Regions from separate parts of the Homo sapiens genome. Here region 1 is linked to region 2. The links are contacts of gene promoters, found by promoter capture Hi-C in human tissues and cell types (Jung and others, 2019). All regions are on one chromosome and are shown on one strand. Each heading gives the region's core, a stretch centred on a gene start or on the middle of the fragment in contact. The rest is flanking DNA. Distances are from core to core; before and after follow the strand shown. Region 1 has its middle 13 kb from the start of C2CD5-AS1. Region 2 holds the start of PYROXD1 (pyridine nucleotide-disulphide oxidoreductase domain 1).

Region 1 (2,954 bases), core at 163-2,662, 1.1 Mb before region 2:
ATGATGACATGAGAAAAAGGGCAAAACTAGTAAGCTGGGGGAGGACAATAACATCAGGGATTCTGTTCAGGAATGTTAAGTTAGAAATACCTATAGACATCCAGTCTGCAGGACAATGATTCTTGATTTATATATGAGATATAAACTTCAGAGTTGTGAGCATAGAAATAAGATTGAAAGCCATGAGTCTAGATGGAATTTTCTAGGGATTTAGAGCAAATTGAGAAGATCCAATAACTAAATTCTGAGACAGACACTTCAATGTTTAGAGCAGCTGTTCTCAAAGTATGATCTGTGGTCCCATGGGGTTCCCTAAGACTCTTATATGGAAACCTGGAGGTCAAAACTACATTTTCATAATCATACAAAGATATTATCTGCCTTTTTTTTTTCTTTTTTTACTGTGTTGACAATCGCACTGAAATACAAAAACAATGGTGGGTAAATTGCTGTCACTTCAGCATAAATCAAAGACAGTGGTACTAAACTCAATTAGAAGTTATTATATGCTTCACCACTGTTGCTCTTGTAGTTAAAATGAAATGCCAACTATTGTTCTCGTAGTTTAAAATGAAAATGTAAGAATGCCTCTGAGGAGAGAGTAACCATTCCTGATGATCCTTTATTACACATCTATTTATTAACAATGTTCAGTGTAAAAACATGGAAACTTCTCATAAAGTACTTCTGGTCCAAAGTAAAATACTTTGATTGGCTCAAGGAAAGACACTTGTGCCATTGTTTGAATTGAAGGCTGGATGACTTTCTTTATGAAACACATTTTTTTATCTGAAAATCAACTAACAGAAAAATTAGGTTTATTCAAACTTGGGTTTTTGGCAGACATTTTCTTGAAAATAAACCAAGTAGGCCGGGTGCGGTGGCTCACGCCTGTAATCCCAGCACTTTGGGAGGCCGAGGTGGGTGGATCACGAGGTCAGGAGATTGAGACCATCCTGGCTAACATAGTGAAACCCTGTCTCTACTAAAAATACAAAAAAATTAGCCGGGCGCGGTGGCGGGTGCCTGTAGTCCCAGCTACTCGGGAGGCTGAGGCAGGAGAATGGCGGGAACCCAGGAGGCGGAGCTTGCCGTGAGCCGAGATCGCGCCACTGCGCTCCAGGCTGGGTGACAGAGAGAGATTCCGTCTCAAAAAAAAAAAAAAAAAAAAAAAAAAAAGAAAGAAAATAACCAAGTGACCTTGTCACTTTAAGGAAAACAACTGACTGTATTTGTTGCCAGTGATAACATTTAAACTTTCAAGCAAAAATTTTGGAAGATTTGCCTCTGTAAGCTTGACAGCTTCCCAATATTGTCAGGTGAGATCAGTAGTGATATTAGGAAATGTGATTTTTTGATATTATATAATGAGATGTGTCAACATTTGAAAAATCTGCATAATTCAGGGAACTAATATTTTCTAATTGACCAATGCATAATGTTACAAAATCATGAATGGGTAAAAAAGCCATTTAAAGTGCAGGATAGACAATAGATTTTCACATAACTGAGTACAAAAAGTTTACTGATACAGCTTTAGATTGCACTTTACAAGTGACCTTCAAGAAACTACCACTTGGAGTTCAAGTACAAAATCAAAGGGGGACATCCAAAATTATTTCAAAAGACTATTAAAATACTCTTCCTTTTTCCAAATATATTACCTAAGTTAGGTCAGATTTTCTTCATATCCTTCAACCCAAACAATGCATTAGAATAGATTGAATTAGAAGGAGAAATGACACTCCAGCTGTCTTCTTTTAAACTAGAATAGGAGTGGGCAAACCTTTTCCATGAAAGTCCAAATAGTTGATATTTTAGGATTTGCCTGCCATATAGTCTCTCTTTGTCACAAATATGCAACTCTTTCATTGTAGTGAGAAAGCTGCCACAAATACTGTGTAAGTTAATGAACATGGTTGTATTCCAATAAATATTTATAAAAACAAGCAGTGGTCTGAATTTGTCCAATAGGCTGTAGTTTGCAGAACCTAGCCCCACACTAGACAGTAAATACATTTTCAAAACTATAAAACAATACCAGTTTTCTCACTAATTTGTTTTGAAAAACAGTTTTTTTCATAAAAATTGTACATAGGTTTTGAAAATGTAGCTATTTTTTCATAAAAATTGTATTTCTGTTAACATGTAGTGGGTTTCTAATTATCATACTTAAACAAATTAATCAATAATTCTTTTCAAGTCTCAACTTTAATTTCTGATACAATCATAACTGATAGATAAAAGCCACATAACCAAAAGCTCTTTGAGAGCTTTAATAATTTTTAAGAATGTAAATGGGGCCTTGATACCAAAAAGTTTGAAAACTACTGGTTTATAGGCAGGAGACATGAGAAGAAATGAGTAAATGAGACAATGGAGGAGTGGCCCATTGAGGAAGGCAGACAACTGGAAATGGGATATCCTGGAAACCAAGTGAACAAATTGTTTCAAGGAGGAGAGTGTGAGACTAACTGTGTCAACTGATAATAGCATCATCAAAATGCTAATGGTAAGGAGGACCAGGTCCAGTGGCTCACACCTGTAATTCCAGCACTTTGGGAGGCCGAGGAGGGAGGATCGCTTGAGCCCGGGAGTTCGAGACCAGCCTGAGAAACATAGCAAGACCTTATCTCTGTAAAAAATAAAAAAACTAGCTTGGTGCTGTGGCACACCCCTGTGGACCCAGCTACTTGGGAGGCTGAGATGGGAGGATCACTTGAGCCCAGAAGGTCAAAGCTGCAGTGAGCCATAATTGTACCACTTCACTCCAGATACTGGTCTCAAAAAAATGCTAATGATAAGGAACCAATAGACAGGGAAATGTTAAGCTTCAAGAGACAGAAGGGCTAATCACTCACTGTAGGACACTGGAGAAGAGGAAGGCATCCAGGGCACTTGTCTTTGTCCATTTGGGTTGGGGAGGCCTTTGCTGAGGGTGAGAAGACCTCATC
Region 2 (2,791 bases), core at 144-2,643:
AGATTTTAAAAATACCTTCTTTGATTAAAAAAATTTCCTCTTCCCTAATTCACTCCCTACATACTCCACAGGCACCTCTAAGATAACCGTTGATATCTCTTGCATAGACATACAATATTGTAATATTGTCTCTTCCAGCAGGCTGTGAGTCCCCAGCATGGTATATACCATGCTGTTCATAGTTGAACACTCAGCCCTTAATACGGTGCCTGCATCATATATGTTTACTTAGTGAATAAACGGAAAATACGCATCCAACGATGGAAACACTTGAGTTTCTTCCACTATTTCTTATGACTTCAGTGATTGCTCATGTTTACTTTATATCAACAAAATAATGTAGAACTTTTTGGAATACACACATGTATCTGAATATATATGGTCTGGCTATTCAGTATAATCAAGAAAGCAAGCCCTACATGCATTTAATCCTTCGCTGATTATTTTACAAAACTTTACTAGAAATAAAGTTTCTTCTATCTTGGGAGTTCGAAGTATAGAAAACTTACATATGGGATTCTTTATTAATTAGTTAAGATGCACTAAAGACTTGGCAACTATCTGGAAACTAAACTCAATCACCTACGATAATTAACAAAGGGGGCTGAGGGCCGGGTGCTGTGGCTCAGGCCTGTAATGCCAGCACTTCGGTAGGCGGAAGCGGGCAGACTGCTTGAGCCCAGGAGTTCGAGACCAGCCTGGCCAACATGGTGAAAGCCCGTCTCTACTAAAAATACAAACATTAGCGGGGCGTGGTGGCTGGCGCCTGTAATCCCAGCTACAGGCTGACGCAACAGAAGAATCGCTTGAACCCGGGAGGCAAAGCTTGCATTAAGCCAAGATCGCACCACTGCCCTCCAGTCTGGGCGACAGAGTGAGACTCCGTCTCAAAGAAAAAGAAAAAAAAATAAAAAGAAAGGGGGCTGAATTTTTTGTCTAAATACAAAGTCCTCATGTCTGCTCTGACATTACAAGGATCTGAGCACGGATCAGCCAGCTTTGGTTTCTCGGCTATAATTTGCCTCCCACTCCTCCCTGCGCCTAAGAGAAAGCTAGTGAGGTCATCTGAGGACCACCAAGCAGTTTCTAAAATCTGGGAGCAATAAGTGCGGAAAAGGGCGCAGCAAAAAAGGAACCCGGAAGAAGAAAAAGGGAGGGGGTGGGAGGAAGGCCTCCAGTGCTATCCCCTTTGGGGTCGGGGAAAGAGGCGGAACCGCCTGAGCACCGCCCTACCTGCTCCGCACAAGTGACGCCCGCGATGCCGCCGCCGACCACCACGAACTTCCCTGCCGTCGGGGGAGGGCGCGCTGCCTCCATGCTGCCGGACTCCCAGTGGTTTACTGAATATCGCGGCGGAGCAACGGGACTCTGGACTCCAGGAGAGGAAGCAGCCGCGAGGCGGTCACTTCCGGTGCCTTACCAGATAATCCGACCTACGGGTGCTCGGGAGCTCACACTACTCATCTCGAGTACCTGCTGCCGGCTGCGTTTCGGAAGCAACGAATTGTCTCGTGGTGTTCAGAGCTTTGCGTTACTATTACTACACCTGAATGTAGTTATTCCATGAAAATTTGACAAAGAGAAAACCAAAAAATTAAAAATAAAAAAGTAAAGAAGATGGGTTGCCCAAAGAAGTTTGATAAATTACATATCTAAAGATAGACCAGTGTTCTCACGGGACAAAACATTCATATAATAAATGAATTGGTGTGAAGTTCTCATTATTTGTTTCTGCGAGAAATTAGAGGCACAGATTTTATGCTCTTATGAGTAGAAGGAGCCTTCGGGAACATCCTGACCCCACTCCTGTCATTTTTGTAGATGAAGAAACTTGAGTCTTCTGAAAACCACTTGATTGCCACCGTTCACCTAACAATCCAAGATTTTTGTTTGTGGAAGCACAAAAATTCTTCATGACAAGGCAAAACAATACTACTGAATTGTTCTCTAAAAAATCATCCTTTTCATTTACAACTTTGACCTCAGCTAAAGTTTCCAGGAAGAATGTACAGTTGCTTTCCATTTTGTCAAAACAAATGAACATTTCTTAAATTTCCAGTCAATAGCAGCATGTGTGAGGGTTGAATGAAATATTCCCAGTCTCGGTTTTACTGTGAATTTTTTTCGTGGTCAATTGTTTTTAAGAAATTGCTAAATCATTTTTAACTGTTTTTACTATATTATTCACTATTCATATTATTTTACTATTTACTATTACCTTTGCTGTCTCATATAACTTTCCCTAGGAGTTGTTTTGTAATGGTAAGGTATTATCTCTCAAATGGTTCACTCTAAAACTGGTAATTACCCGAGTCCCTTTAATTCTTTAAACACTGAGAATAACCATTATATATTAACAGGAAAGCCTACCACGTATCTAATTACAGGCATTTACTGATACCTGTAAAAATCATTGTTCTTTGATTTACCAAGTTAAATGGTAAGCGGTTTAATAAACGTGTCTAATTCCTGTTACTAGTATAGCAACCAAACAAAGCATTCATTTCTAGGAGGAGGAAATACATTCCTTAAGCCCATTTAGATCTCATCTTGCTTCAGCTTATTTTCACATTATCTCACTCACACTGTGTTCCATTCAGGCCACACTACACTTCCAGATCCCAGGATATGCCATTTTCTTTCTGAGCATTTGCACATATCTTTTTCCCAACTACTTTTCCCTGGCTAACTCATCAACCTTTGGTTTCATCAAGCCATTGCTTCCCCTTTAAGATACTTTATCTAACATCCTCAAGACAGCTAGGTGTCCTCTCCGTGTGTTCTTATAGCA

Evidence for each region. Contacts are between HindIII fragments. The study calls those that stand out against the background at their distance.
Region 1: a contact is called between a fragment that was not itself captured here and the fragment with the promoter of PYROXD1 in region 2, in 1 of the 25 tissues and cell types used here (H1 embryonic stem cells).

Annotation. Positions count from the first base shown.
Region 1 is chr12:22,563,898-22,566,851 of GRCh38, reverse strand. No RefSeq gene overlaps it. Among named protein-coding and RNA genes, the nearest start is that of C2CD5-AS1, 13 kb to the left of the region's middle. The HindIII fragment of the contact is 4,924 bases long and covers 1-2,954 here.
Region 2 is chr12:21,436,257-21,439,047 of GRCh38, reverse strand. It overlaps PYROXD1 (pyridine nucleotide-disulphide oxidoreductase domain 1), which reads right to left and starts at 1,393. Exons shown (of 12, transcript NM_024854.5): 1 at 1,234-1,393. The coding sequence starts at 1,317. RefSeq lists enhancers at 1,245-1,434, 1,485-1,564. The HindIII fragment of the contact is 3,974 bases long and covers 368-2,791 here.